2 separate regions of the Homo sapiens genome follow, and region 2 is linked to region 1. Evidence: promoter capture Hi-C in 16 types of primary human blood cells and fetal thymus (Javierre and others, 2016). All regions are on one chromosome and are shown on one strand. Each heading gives the region's core, a stretch centred on a gene start or on the middle of the fragment in contact. The rest is flanking DNA. Distances are from core to core; before and after follow the strand shown.

The links. Contacts are between HindIII fragments. The CHiCAGO score rates a contact against its expected background, and 5 or more counts as called.
Region 2: a contact is called between a fragment that was not itself captured here and the fragment with the promoter of CCDC88A in region 1, in 1 of 17 cell types (fetal thymus). The highest score is 5.1, in fetal thymus.

What each region holds. Positions count from the first base shown.
Region 1 is chr2:55,418,423-55,421,187 of GRCh38, reverse strand. It overlaps CCDC88A (coiled-coil domain containing 88A), which reads left to right and starts at 1,332. Exons shown (of 33, transcript NM_001365480.1): 1 at 1,332-2,171; 2 at 2,272-2,372. The coding sequence starts at 2,109. RefSeq lists silencers at 932-1,221, 1,282-1,331, 1,362-1,431. The HindIII fragment of the contact is 14,096 bases long and covers 1-2,765 here.
Region 2 is chr2:54,759,388-54,762,152 of GRCh38, reverse strand. The region is part of intron 2 of EML6 (EMAP like 6); the gene reads right to left. Among named protein-coding and RNA genes, the nearest start is that of EML6-AS1, 9.7 kb to the right of the region's middle. The HindIII fragment of the contact is 1,147 bases long and covers 765-1,911 here.

The DNA of each region.
Region 1 (2,765 bases), core at 83-2,582:
GAACACTTAACTATAAGCTGCCATTTCATTTAACCCTATTATTAGCCCTGCTTTACACGTGACGGAATCGAAGCACAAAGAGACTCAATAACGTGCGTAGGCTCACACAGCTGGTGCATATTGGAACCAGGCAGGAAGACTTCAGAGTCCAGGTTCTCAACTACCCAATTAAGAAATTCTGCTCTTTCTTAACTGTGTTATGACAAAAACATTTTTACTGCTAATTTAAAATATATACTCCGTGTAAATATTTATGTAATGTAAACATAGCACACATTATAAAACTATAATATTATCTTTTATCAAAAAAAGATTGCGTTCTATATGCCCATTTTACCCCGGGAAAAAGGTCTTTATTTTCCTTTGAAATGAGGAGTAGCATTTGATTTTGCCAGGGAACTTAAAATTATTTCAAGGTCCCAGTCGTACGTGGCATGGAGATTTATGACAAATATGTAATCTGTTTATTTGTCACCCAACTTGGATGACTTCTAAATGTTTCTTCTTTGTAGCTCTTGATTTTGCTTGGGTTTCCCCCGACCCATGCCCAAATAGTAAAAAACAAAACAAAACCAAAAAACAATGTCTGAGTCATGTTTGCTCCAGTCAGGGAATACCAACGTGCTGACAGACAGCTCTGGTTTTTAAAAAATCTTACTGTATGTCACTTGCAACTTTGAAGAACATTCATGCGTTAGTGGACTGCATTTGGAAGAAAACAAAAAGGAGAAAAAAACCCCCACCAAGTTGTGGCTCAAGTCCCTCTGCCATTTGCTGCAGTGAGTTTTCCTATTCCATTTTGCTGGGGAGAAGGCATGCTTTACAGAACACATCAAACTGTCCGAAAAAGGCTGTCTGCATCCCTCATGTTTATAAGAGAAGGATTTCTTTCCCCTTCCTTCACGTATCAAAGAAGTCACTCGGGGAGGAAATAAACCATAATTAGGCATGAGCGAGCGAGCAGACAGACCCCTTGCTCTGCCTTCCCTGTCCCCGCCCACCAGGCAACCGTCCTGGGCGCAACCGAGGAGCGGGTTGTCTCCGCAGCAGCTGCAGCGAGCGCGCGCCCACGCCCGAGCCCGCGCCCGCCGCCAGGATCTGGGCGGCGGCGAGGCTAGCCCGGGGGCGCGCTCGCTCGGGAGCGCGCTCATGCAGCGGTTTTCTTCTCCCACAATCCAGAGGCAGCTGCACGGGAGGGGCGGGGAGTCGGCGGAAGGATATCGGCGCGGAGGGAGCAGCGCGCTCCCTTTGACGGCGGCCCCCGGCATTGGCGGGCGGCGCTGGCGGGCGGCGAGGGGTGGGGTGTGATGCGGCACTGCGGTTCTGAGGCCGTTACTCCGGCTTCTCCATAGAGGGCGGAGAAGGCTGGAGCGCGGCGGTGATTTTGTGCCAGGGATTCCCAGAGACGCGCTGAAAGGCTGGCAGGGCTTAGGAAGCTGGGGGGTTAGGGACACACATTCAAGCCCCCACCCCCGGGAGGGGAAGGGGGCTGGAGGCGAGGCTTGAGGGCGGCGGAGGAATGGTGTCTGCTCGGGGGGAAGGGGCGAGCCCTGCCTGTTGGTACTGAGGGGCTGCGGGCAGTGGAGGCTCCGCGGGTCGAAAGCGGCTCCATGCCCATCGGTGGGTGGAACGTGTAGAGGTCGGAACGCCGAGGTCGAGTCTGGTGGCGCCTCGGTATCCTTAACGTGGTCTCTGTTTAACGTATTTCATTTAGCCCCCGTTGGGATTGATTCATTGGGAGCAGTTTCGCTGGTCTGGATCCTCCAGGAGCTGGACAACCTTGACGGGCTTTTTGTCTTGGGTTCCAGCCCCCTTTCCCTTCCTCCTCCTCCAGATGCCTTTTCTCTGCCCCTCCTCGCCCGGTACAGACATTTCCAGCGCAGGCTGCTGCTCGTGGTGTCCGTCGTCGAAGCCACTTCTTGGGATTTCGGCTCGTTTCACTCTGGGGTGTTTTTTGAGGAGGGAGAGTGCCCCCCTCCTCCACGATGGGATTTTTCTCCCTTGCCGAAATGGACTTTCATTGATTTCTACTTACTTCCACGTTTAGTGACCAATTCCCTAGGCGTATTTTTGTGGTAGTTCCTTTTTTCAAATACATACTCTGTAAAATGGAGAACGAAATTTTTACTCCCCTTCTGGAGCAGTTCATGACCAGCCCTTTGGTCACTTGGGTAAGTGGGGTGTCCTTTATTGTATATTTTGCTGAGTTATTTGTGGCTGCAGAGATGGAGGTGGGCGTTCATGTCGTGGTGATCCTTCTGTTTGTTCTAGGTTAAAACGTTTGGACCTCTGGCCGCAGGAAATGGGACCAACCTTGATGAATATGTGGCTTTGGTGGATGGGGTATTCTTGAACCAGGTCATGCTCCAAATGTAAGTTCTTCCTTCTTTCCTAGGTAACGTTTTCTTTGAGAAATAGCATATGGTGAACTTTGAGACACGATGTTTTAAGCCCCTAATTTGGTTCATTGGCCAGAAATATTCAGGTGGTTTAAGAATTGGATCTTGAAAGGAATGCTAATGTTATGGGCTCAGCCCATTATCACAACCTAGATATTTTACCTGTTAAAATTGTGAAACTTTAGTTTTTCATTCTGTCAACCATGTATTGTCACTTGTCTTCAGTACTGAAATCCAAGCCACATTGTGTATTCTTTGATAATTTGGTAAAATAAGAGAGAAAATGAGAATCTGGTTTCCTAAGAGAGGAAAAAAGACTTTACTGTGAAGTTATGTGCATTTGATGCAGAAATGTTTCTTATTAAC
Region 2 (2,765 bases), core at 89-2,588, 660 kb after region 1:
AGGCACTTTTCCAGATTAAAAGAGACTAAGGAGACATGAAAATGAAATGCAATACATTATCTGAGCTGGATCTTATACCAGAAAAAAATTGCCCTAAAGGCAATTATTGGCATTACTGACTAAAGAAGAATATAGAGCAGATAACAGTATTGTGTCAACATTAAATTTCCTGAATTTAATAACCATACTGTGGTTATACAAGTGACTATCCTTATTCTTAAAATTACATGTTTTAGTATTAAGGGTAAAAGGGAATGATGCATTCAACCTACTTTCAAGTGATTCCAAAAAAAAAAGCAATACTAATGCGTATCTATAAAGAGAAAGAATAACAAAGAAAATGTGTCAAAATACTAAAAATGGATGAAATCTGTGGACTATTCTTGCTATTTTTCTACAAGTTTGAAATGATTCCAAAATAAGTTTAAATAGACTTATATTTTAAACTTAAAGCATAGGTACCTCAACTATTTTTGACCATTTTAAACATTTCCATATCATAATTCAGACAAATTAAAGTCAAGCTATATCCACAGAGTTTATGATTTATGTTAGTGAAAGAATCACTTTTGACCAAATTGCAATGTGATTCATAAATGTCCACTTTTATGCCTTTGTGATTTTTTAAATGATCAACCAAATTTGATAATTTAATTACATTCACATATTATATACCTCAGATAAAACTAGTAAGCTGCTCTGAAAAGGGGAAATACCTTATTCAACTTTCTTACCAGAAATTATAAACACTGAAGGACTAAGCTTTGTTTAATCCCTGGTATTTCCCCAATTAATAAAAATAAGCACCTTCATTTATGCTTTTTTTTCAGTTAAGCATTAATAAAAAAGAAACAAAGCGTATTGTTTATTATCATATTTTTTGGTTCACAAAACTGCAAAATTCAAGTTTATAACATTAAACAAGTCCGTTCCACAAACTGGGAGTACTATGACTTTGGTAGTCTGTTTAAAATCATATTCTCAGATGAAATAACCATATGGAAAACAATTTCTCAACAATGATGAGAGTTATTATCATTTGGCTGCACTACCACTAAGAATAAAGTGGAATTAAAACCATAAAGCAGAGAAGCTGAAATCTAGTTTCTCAAATGCCTTGGGATTAACTTCACTAGCATAAACCTCAAAGATACTGATTACCAAACTCAGTACTTCCCAGATTAATAAAAACATTATTGGTCACCATTCATCATACTAAGCCTCATGCTTCTAGATTCAGGAGGTTTGTATTTCCCAGACACAGAGTAACTTCCATCTTTCAGTCTGTCCCAGATTCTTTTTCTAGTAAAAAAAAAAAAAAAAAAAAAAATGCTCCCTCAACTTCAAAGCAATGGGGAGAGAGAATGGATCTCATGTACACCTCCCATCTTTGAAATCTTCCGAATTCCAGGACAAAAGCAGTGATTCTCTGTCAAGGTTTGTTTGTATAAGGGAAAGATAGAAACTTACTTCTTCATATAAGAAAGAAAACCCAGATAAAATTACATTTGGCAAAACAAATTGAATTTGATAGTGTCATATACCGGCCAGATGGTAGGGAAACAGGTACTCTGCAAGCCTGCTGCCTCTAGGTACTGCAATTCTAGGCTATATTGAAACTGAAAATGGGCATACCTGTGACTAACCAAGTCCACCTCTAGATATCTCCCTAGAGGGCCACTCTCCCATGTGTGCAAGGATTCACTGAAACACTGTTTGAAAAGCAAAAGAACCTAGAAGTCTGTCAATAGGGGAATTTATGTAAAGAAATCAAGCACATGCATAAAGCAATACTCTGTTATGTTCTTGGGTAGTACGTGAATATAAAGATCTGAAAAATATATACCAAACTCATAGCAGTAGTGAATATCTGGGGAGCATGGAGGGAGACCAGGACAGGAAATGAAAGCTTCATTTGGAATGTTCTAAAATTAAAAAAAAAAAAAGAAAACTTATTCATGTATTACTTAAGTAGTTAAAAATTAATTTTCAATGATTAAAAATATGGATCGAGTCAAACACTAAATAAATCTAAGACCAAGATCAATTTGACTACAAAATAGTGGAAACTGAGAAAAACTGGAAGTTAGGCTATTTAAATTACTAACATTCTTAATGCATCAGAGTAATGGCCCAGAATCGGAGCCGGAGTCTTGATCCTGCTGTGTATAATGATCCTGCTGATATCTAGAGCAAGTTATCTTATTTCTCACCTACACTTAATCATTAAAATATATATAAATATATATTATATGTAAACAAAGATTTTATATATATATATATGGAGGGAAGGAAGTTTCCTCAACTATTAATTACATCTAATTTTGTCCAACCTCGAACTTCACTCTTGGATCACCTTAGCACAGCCTAACATTGGGATATAGTTAAAATGTCTCCATTTTGAGCAGATTCTGCATGCTCTCTCCTGAGCATTCACATGCTAGCTTGGTGATGAAGATGTGTTGGTATAAATCCAACTTTTCTTTAGATTTAAATGAGTTGGTACATGTAAAGTTTTTAGAGTTTTTAAAGTTTTTCTCTCTCCCCCAGATTTGGCATCCATTGCTAATTTATGTCTGAATTTATGACTTTTAAAAACTCTATAAAACCTTTAAAAGCTCCTTAAATGAATAAAGTTACTATGCGTTTAGTCAGCATTCAATAAATATTAGCAAATAATATTATTGCTATTTCCAAAATAAGTGACTCATTTTAGCACTTCCCCCATGATCTTATAATAGTTACCACCACTATTCTTTCTAGTA